2 separate regions of the Homo sapiens genome follow, and region 2 is linked to region 1. The links are contacts of gene promoters, found by promoter capture Hi-C in blood cells and fetal thymus (Javierre and others, 2016). All regions are on one chromosome and are shown on one strand. Each heading gives the region's core, a stretch centred on a gene start or on the middle of the fragment in contact. The rest is flanking DNA. Distances are from core to core; before and after follow the strand shown. Region 1 holds the start of MRPL19 (mitochondrial ribosomal protein L19). Region 2 overlaps LOC124905975 (a long non-coding RNA gene).

What was found. The method cuts DNA at HindIII sites, captures the fragments that hold promoters and counts their contacts. A CHiCAGO score of 5 or more calls a contact.
Region 2: a fragment that was not itself captured here is called in contact with the fragment with the promoter of MRPL19 in region 1 in 2 of 17 cell types (total CD4 T cells and total B cells); the score reaches 11.4 in total CD4 T cells.

Annotation. Positions count from the first base shown.
Region 1 is chr2:75,644,368-75,648,902 of GRCh38, reverse strand. It overlaps MRPL19 (mitochondrial ribosomal protein L19), which reads right to left and starts at 2,120. Exons shown (of 6, transcript NM_014763.4): 1 at 1,993-2,120; 2 at 1,684-1,801. The coding sequence starts at 2,095. RefSeq lists enhancers at 1,891-2,190, 2,026-2,320. The HindIII fragment of the contact is 2,636 bases long and covers 1-2,308 here.
Region 2 is chr2:15,583,877-15,588,542 of GRCh38, reverse strand. It overlaps LOC124905975 (a long non-coding RNA gene), which reads left to right. Exons shown (of 2, transcript XR_007086224.1): 2 at 1-274. Among named protein-coding and RNA genes, the nearest start is that of DDX1, 5.7 kb to the left of the region's middle. The HindIII fragment of the contact is 6,453 bases long and covers 1-4,500 here.

The DNA of each region.
Region 1 (4,535 bases), core at 871-3,370:
ATTGTTTCGTATAATTTTGTTTTTGTTTTTTTCTGAGACAGAGTCTTGCTCTATCGCCCAGGCTGGAGTGCAGTGGCACGATCTCGGCTCACTGCAACCTCGGCATCCTGTGTTCAAGCAATTCTTCTGCCTCAGCCTCTCGAGTAACTGGGATTATAGGCACATGCCACCACACCTGGCTAATTTTTTTTTTTTTTTGTACTTTTAGTAGAAATGGGGGTTTCGCCATGTTGGCCAGGCTGGTCTCGAACTCCTGACTTCGTGATCTGCCCTCCTCGGCCTCCCAAAGTGCTGGGATAACAGTCGTGAGCCACCGCACCCGGCCTATAGTTTTAAAACTTCATAAAAATAGCATCCTACTACATTAATGATTCTAAAGGTTTTTTTTACACACAGATTTGTGAAAATCTTCCATGTTTAAAAGTGAGCTCTAATTCACTCATTTTTCACTGCTATACAATATTCTGTCATATGAATGTATTTGCCTGTTCACCTACTGATGGATATCTAGGCTGCCTCTAAATTTTGTTACAAAAAATACTGTTACATTCATTCTCGTGCTTGTCTCCTTGTACATACACGTTAGGAGTTTAAGTTGTGTGCTTTCTGAGTGAGAAGGTATACACAACTTAAACTTAGTAAATTCTGTCAAATTGTTCTCTAGAGCATATAATTTACATTCCTATTTAAGTGAATTCTATTAAATGCCACTGTTTAAAAGAGATATTCCATTTCTACCCTCAAAAGCAAAGTTTTATGAAGAAATATTTTCTGAATCTCTTAGTTCTCTAACTCCAAGTTTACTTCTATTTAAATCCGTGGAATATTTTAAATGTTAAAAAAAGAAAAGAAAAAAAAAAGCCAGGCGTGGTACCAGTAGTTCCAGCTACTCTGGAGCCTGAGGCGGGAGGATCACTTGAGCCCAGAAATTTGAGGCTGCAGTGAGCTAAAATCACCACTGCACTCCAGCCTGGGAGACTGAGAGAGACTCTGTCTAAAAAAAATTTAAAAAATAAAAAAATTAAAAATCCCAGAAGTAATCCAATCAATAATCTACAGCCCTTTCAAAAAGCCTATAATCATATCAGGTTTTTCCTCTGAAAACTGGCTTTTTAAAAAGGTTGCTACATAGCTCTCTTTTCAGACCTTAAGTCCTTTAAATTTACATGTACCTCCAAGATTACCACCATTCATATAAGTTTTTATTCACACTATTTTGATGAGTAAGTTTCAGACACAATTTAGTGGCCAGTTTTACTGTGCTTTGTCTGCCAAAACTTCCAACCTAAACCATAGCAAATTTTTTAAGTTGGCCAATCGATTCCTATCCAGGGTTAAGGGTCTTTTGAGAGAAAAGAAGAGCTCTTGGACGTAAACAGGTATAAACAGGATATACCTCAGAGAAAAACTCTGGTACAGGACAAATACCACAGAGAAAAGAGTTTAAAATATGGGGAACCCCTACTTGAAGTTCTGACTCAATAAAACTGCAAAGAAGTTCAATGCTGGCTTGGGGAGAAGTGAGAAAGAAAGAACAGTGTGGTGCGCTGGCTCTTGAATCCTACACACCTGCTCGTGCAGGGGGAGGTGCAGCCCCCACCTTAGAGCCGGGACCTCGAACGCGAACGCGCTCACGCGCGCACCGACCCCAGTTGCCGGCCTAGCGCCAGGGCAGTGCCTCACCTGCGTTCCGGTTCCACGGGGCGGTGCTTGTCCACGATGACCGGTTTCGGCGGCGGTTGGAACGCACCGGGCTCGGAAGGCCCAGTGCTCTGCTGCCGGACAGGCCCCGCGTGGACCCCTGCGGGAGCGGACGACGGAGGTCAGAACTCTCGTGCCAACCCTGAGATCCCGCAGAGCCCCGCAATCTCCCCCAACCCGGCGTCCCACGGGGGACCAACGCTGGGGTTGCCTCTGATCTCCAGGTTCGCCTCCCCCATCCTGACCCTGGGCCCCTAACGCGCCCCAGCTCGCAAGTCCGGCTCCACTTACTGCAGGCGATAGAGGCCGGCGGGGGGAGCAGAGTCCTGGCGGCTTGGAAACTCCGGCCTAGGCCCATTGCAGCCCAGTGCCCCGCTGCAATGCAGGCCGCCATGCCAGCTAGCTCACGTCAAGACTACAGCTCCCAGTAATCAGTGCGACGAGGTTGTTGCTGTCTGCCACCATATGGCGGCTGCTATGGGACAAAATGGATAAGTCTCTCCTCGCTCCTTTCCTGATGTCTTAGGAAAAGTGCACGTTTCTCTAGTTCCTCGTAATGCGCCAAGTTACACCCCTCCACAGGGGTGTTCTCCCAGCCTAGAAAGCTTTTTCCTCCCCCTATGAATCCACTCTATCTTCTCAGACAAGCTTTCGCTATGCGAAAATCCCATTGTAGGCCGTCTTTCCCACTGGGTGCCTTCGATTGGCAGCTCTGATCTCATTTGCAATTCTTTCTTGTGTAATTATTAGATTAGTATTTAAATCTGCCATTATACTATAATGAGGCAAGGGAAGGGATAAAGTCTTCTTTTTGCTCACCATGTTATCCCAGCACCTAGCACCTACCTGGGCCCTCACTAACATCTTTTGTTTTGTTGAGACAAGGTCTTCCTCTGTTACCCAGGCTGGAGTGCAGTGGCGCGATCATGGCTCTGCAGCCTCCAACTCCTGATGTCAGGAGATCCTCTCACCTCAGCCTCCCGAGTAGCCAAGACTACAGTCTCGCACCATCACGCCCAGCTAATTTTTCTAATTCTTTGCTGAATGCACAGAAAAGAGAATAGAATAGTTCCTGACAGAACTGCTGGCCCATAGTCCTTGAGACTACACAAAGCATTAACCCTTTGAGGAACCCAAATGAATTTGGGCTGGGCAACTGTGGGTATGGATAGGTGGGAGAAGTAAAGCTGGAAAAGGTAAATTGTAAGTCTTGTTAAGAAATTTGGAAAATGACTGGGCGTGGCCAGGCATGCCTGTAATCCCAGCACTGTGGGAGGCCGAGACAGGAGGGTCCCTTGAGCTCATGAGTTGGAAACCAGCCTGGGCAATATAGTGAGACCGTATCTCTAAGAAACAAACACACAGCCGGGCGCAGTGGCTCACGCCTTTAACCCCAGCATTTTGGGAGGCCGAGGCGGGCAGATCGCCTGAGGTCAGGAGTTTGAGACTAGCCTGGCCAACATAGTGAAACCCCGTTTCTACCAAAAATAAAAAAAATGATCCAGGTGTGGTGGCAGGCTCCTGTAATCCCAGCTACTTGGGAGGCTAAGGCAGGAGAATCGCTTGAACCTGGGAGACAGAGGTTGCAGTGAGCCGAGATCGCGCCATTGCAACAAGAGCGAAACTCCGTCTCAAAAAAACAGAAAAAGAAACACACACAAAAAAAGAAATTTGGAATTTGTTATTTCAGCAGTGGTTATATAAGGATTGAACACTTAGAGTAATGTGATAATTTAACTACATAATAGTCATTCCAGTTGCATTAATGTCCCAAAGCTACCTCAAATTCAGCCTATCCATACTGAGTTCATCTTTTTCAGCTCCAGACTTCCTTCCCAGTATTGGCTATCTCAAGGAATGGCTTCAGCATCCACTCTCTTGCCTAAGCCAAAAATCTCAGTGCCATTCTTGATTCCTCCCTGTCTCCTCCTGGATGAAGTTCCAAAAACTATGCCTGACACCGTCAAATATCTCAGGAATCCATATACTTTCTCATCCTCCCATCCATATTTCCAATCTAGGTCAACATATTTTCTCTCTTCAGGATCCCTGGAGATCCCTGCAACAGCCTTCTCATTAGTCTTCTTGCCTCTGGTTACCTCCAGTCCTTCACGCAGCAACCAAAAAAAGATGGCTCAGAAATGCATACCCTGTTCTTTCCTTTCCCCAGTTTAAAGCCTTACTGTTTACTTTTGACAGAAGTCAAATGCTCATAAAAGCAACCAACCTCTGCAGCTTGGCCTCTATACTCTGACTTGCCATCCTGAAGAACATGAGCTGTTACATCAGCCTGAGGAACAGGGCCATGTTTTGAGCACAGAATTCAAGATGCTGTGAAGAAAGACAGGGCCTTCTATTTTAACTCTAGCTTCTTTGATTAGAACAAGAATTTATTCTATAAATGACAAGGAATCTCACAACCAAAATTTCAGATGAGCAATATTTTGGCTCTTCTACCTACCCGAAAAAGTAGACTTCAAGCCCTTAAGAGTAAAAGGGAGGAGAGGCAAAGATAATCATGACTGGCAGTGGTGAAGATTTTTCTGTATTAACCATGCCCAGAACACGTGGCCTTCACTCTTGCTGGGATTGGTCCTAAAGGTAGGGGCAGAGAAATAAAAGACAGACCTTCACAGGAGGACAGCAGGATTTACTAGACATTGCCAAGCCACTCCTGCTGCCCTCTCCTCTTCCACAGATGAAGGAATAGTTGTGTAGAGTTTTACAAAATTGGAAGAATGAACCTAAAGAATCTTATCTAATTTTCTCCCGTATTCTTGCTCATCCAACATATATCAGGCCGTTTTGACCTTATCTTAATTTGGAGAACAAGC
Region 2 (4,666 bases), core at 25-2,524, about 60 Mb after region 1:
CCAGGACAGACACCACCAGGTGGCACCAAACTGTAGCCAAACTGAGAAGAGATTGGACTGGACCCTAAAAACTCCCAGCGTAGGCTTTTGTTCATCTGTCTCCATTTATACAAATGGACGTGCGACATTTAAGGCGGGTGATGGAAGTCTTCAACAACTGGATTGTGGTGCTGGTTGCACAGCTCTGTGAATCATTGAATTGTACATTAGTGAATTTTATGGTATTTAAATTATACCTTAATAAAGCTGTTTAAAAAATTATAATTAAAAAACACATATGGCTGAGCGTGGTGTCTCATGCCTGTAATCCCAGCACTTTGGGAGACCGAGGTGGGTGGATTACCTGAGGTCAGGAGTTCAAGACCAGCCTGGCCAACATGGTGAAACCCTGTCTCTACTAAAAATACAAAAAATTAGCCGTGCTTGGTGGCGGGCGCCTGTAATCCCAGCTACTTGGGAGGCTGAGGCAGGAGAATCACTTGAACCCAGGAGGCGGAGGTTGAAGTGAGCCGAGATCATGCCACTGCACTCCAGCCTAGGCGACAGAGCAAGACTCTGTCTCAAACACACACACACACACCCCTCAGCCTGGGCTTGCCCCCAGTATTTTTTTTTTAACCTCAGAATAACCCCACATTTTCTGTAATTGGGTAGTTTGGGCCCCACTAATCATGTGATAGGGAAGTTTTACTATGTTATCCATGGGCCCAAGATATTATGCTATGTATTTTCAAGTAAGCTATATTATAATTATATCCCACTGTAGAGCAAATGGTTTTGCAACTACTAAGGCAGACCTGAAAAAAAATGCCTTCAGGTATCTGGGAAAGTGTAGAGAGGATGGGTCCTGGGAAGGCCTCTGTAGATGGACCACCCAAAAGCCATACACAGTTCCTAGGTTAGCTCATTTGTGCTGCTATAGCAAAATACCTGAGAATGGCTAATTTATAAGGAACAGAAATTATTTCTGCCAGTTCTGGAGGTTGGGAAGTCCAAGATTAAGGTGCCAGTAAGTTTATAGTCTGGTGAGGGTTTGGTTTCTGCTTTTAAGGTGGTGCCTTGAACACCATGTCCTCCAGCAGGGAGGAGCTCTATGTCCTTACATGGCAGGAGGTACAAGGGCAAGAGACCAAATGCTCCATGAAACTTCTTTTACAAGGGCTTCAATCCCATTCATGAGAGCAGAACCTTCATGGGCCAATCACCTCTTAAAGGCCCCCCTCTTAAAATTACATTGGCAATGTGAAGTTTGGAGGGAACATTCAAACAATAGTAGTCCCCTTTCCCATTGCCTTTCTTTATTATAGAAATCTGAAAAAGGCTGGACGTAGTGGCTTATGCCTTTAATTCCACCACTTTCGGAGGCCAAGGTGGGAGTATGACTTAAGCCCAAGAGTTTGAGACCATCCTGGGCAACATAGAGTCCCTTTCTCTAACAAAACTTTAAAAAATTAACCAAGCATGGTGGCACGCACCTGCAGTCCACCTATTTGGGAAGCTGGCCGGGGGAGGATCTTTTTTTTTTTTTTGAGATGGAGTCTCACTCTGTCATCCAGGCTAGAGTACAGTAGAGTACAGCAGCGTGATCTCGGCTCACTGCAAGCTCCGCCTCCTGGGTTCACGCCATTCTCCTGCCTCAGCCTCCTGAGTAGCTGGGACTACAGGCGTCCGCCACCATGCCGGGCTAATTTTTTTGTATTTTTAGTAGAGACGGGATTTCACCGTGTTAGCCAGGATGGTCTTGATCTCCTGATGTCATGATGAAGGATCATTTTTGAGCCCAAGAGGTCGAGGATGCAGTGAGCCGTGATCACACCACTGCACTCTAGTCTGGGTGACACAGCCACACTCTTCTCAAAAAGAAAAAAAAAATGGAAACTTGGAAGAAGAAGAAAACAATCACCTTTCCAGATTCCTTTGTAGAGAGACAGCCCAGAGACTCAGCTCTGCCTGGAGAGATATAACTGGCAGTGCCAGGTTGGGACTTCCAGGAATGCTTTTCAAAAGGGAAAGATCTGTCTGGCATGCACCGTTTTTCCTTTGGAACATTGATATGATGCCTGGAAAGTCAGCAATGAGTCCCGAAGATAAAAGCCGCACACTAAGACTACTGAAGCAGAAATAAAAGGCTGGATCCTTAATGATGGTAAGCCCAGGTCTGTCTACCTCTAGACCTCTCTTGCAGCTTGAGAATGTCCCAGTTAAGCCACTTTAAAATTTCTTTTTTCTGCAGCCCAACACTTTGCTAAGAGGTACAGAAAAGAAAGGAAATAAAACACACATCATTATGGATATTGTGTAATGTATCTTTCAGGAACATTTTTTGAATGTTTCATAATACAGCAATAATCAAGCTATTCTGGCTAAAAGGCGGAGGAGACATTTGGCCTGAGTTGTGAGGGAAACATCCAAAATTATCCCTGAATATATGGCCATTTCCTCACAATGAAAATGAAGGTGAAATGTGACATATACAGTAGAGGATGTGACTCTGAACCCAGCCTAGGGAACACAAGTCAAATTAGGTTGTTTAGTTTGTCCTTTCATTGACATCCACCCTCCTCCTCAGTTCCTATTCCCAGGTCCTTCTGGAACAAGATAAAGCCAGCTGCTTAGTTTCTGAGGATCTCACCACCAAGAAGGAGGAAGCAGCTAGAGAGAGAATTTGTTTTAATCTAAAAGAAGTTGAGTAGAAAATACAATATCGTCATCCATAAACCCCCTCCCTCACAAAGTCCTTCCTCACAATATAGAATACAAACCTACCCATCATTTCACACAAGTAACAGTAACCTTCCCCCTCCATAAATGCTGTCCGTGTAGGTTGCCCCAGATCTACCTGTTAGGAGGGAAAAAACGACTCAGGAGTACTTGCACTGGATCTTGAATCTTGCTATGGTCAGTCTTTCCATTAACAAACTCTCTCCCCTTCAACACAGCTCTTAGTTGGTAAGGCTCCTGAATCCACCCTCCATAGGATGGTCCTCCATGTCCAGCCTCCTGCTTACTTCCAGCCTTATTACCTGCCACTCTCCACAAATTTTACTTTCTAGCATATCAAACTGTGTAGAAATCCTTGCATATGCCACATTGCCTGTCACCACTGTAGTTTTTAAAATGCTGTTCCCTCTCCCTAGAATGGCTTTCCCTTTTTAGTTTTGGCTATCTGTTGCTGTGAACAACTACACCAAAACTTAGAGGCATACTACAACAGCCAATATATTTGCTCATAATTTAGGGGGTCAGGAATTTGGGCAGGGCTTAGCTGGCTGGTTCTTCTTTTCCATGTGGCATTCCCTGAGGTCACTCACTAGGTCACATTCAGCTGGTGTCTTGGCTGGGCTGGGAGGTCAAAGAAGACTTTACTCCCATGTGTGGTCGCCCATTATTCCTCTACATGATATTGCTCTGTCCACGTGGCCAGCTTGGACTTTCTCACAGTGGGATTAGTATTAGGGAAGACAGACTTCCTACATAGTACCACAAAGATGTGTCTCAAAAGTAGAAAGCAAAAGCTGCATATCTCTTAAGCCAGCCTTGGAAGTAATACAGTGTCACTTCTATTACATTCTGTCAGCCAACACAAGTCATAGGACCAGCCTATGACTCATGGGGAGGAGAAACAGACTCTAACATTCAATGCAGTAAATTGCAAAGAGTTTGCAGCCATTTATAATATACCATCTTCTGTAATGTAGTAGGTGCATTTACAATATAACAAACTATAATAACACCTATCTTCTTGGCAAACTCCTAATTATCATTCAGATTCAACTAAGCTAGCAACTTGCAGCAAATCCTGCTTCCCCAATGTTTATTTCTCTTTTTCCTTAAACTTCTGACTTAGTTGGACATATGGCTGCTCAGAATACTCTATTTGCCAGCCTTCCTGGTAGCTATATATGGCCATATACCCATGTTCTGACCAGTGGTATATAAACAGAGGTGTCAAATGTGACTTCTGGGAAATGTCCATAATGGAGGTGTTGTGTTCCTCCTTATTTCTTCCTTCCTGTTGGATGGAATGAGGATGTGATGGCTGGGGTTTGAGCAGCCATTTTGGACCACTAAATGAGAGCCATATACTGAGAATAGCAGAAAAATAACAGAAAAATAGCTTGAGTCTCTGACACCTTTGGAGAACCATACCAGCCAAAAATTGTGACTCTAGATTTCTTAAATGAGAGAGAAATAAAGATCTATCTTCTTTCTTTGCAGGAAGGGGAGATGAGGGCAGTCTGTCTCACGCAGCCAAACCTAATCCTAATTTATATGCTCTCATTAGTTATCTATTGCTACGAAACCAGTTGCCCCAAAATCTAGTAACTTAAAACAATAAACATTTATTATTACTCCCAGCTTTTGTGGAACAGGAATTCAGAAGCAGCTTGGCTAGGCAGGTTCCACTTGGAGTCACTCTTGCAGTAGTAGCCAAGCTGCTAGCTGGGATTGCAGTCATCACAAGGCTTTGCTAGGGCGGAAAGATCAGTTTTTAAAGCTTGGTCACTCCCTTGTCTGTGCTGGCAGTGAGTGGGAGGCCTCTGCTTTTCTCCACATAGATCTCTCCCTGGGCCACTTCAGTGTTCTCATGATATTGCAGCTGGGAACCCCTCACCCTTCCCCACTAAAGCAAGCCATCCTAGAGAACAAAGCAGAATAAATATTA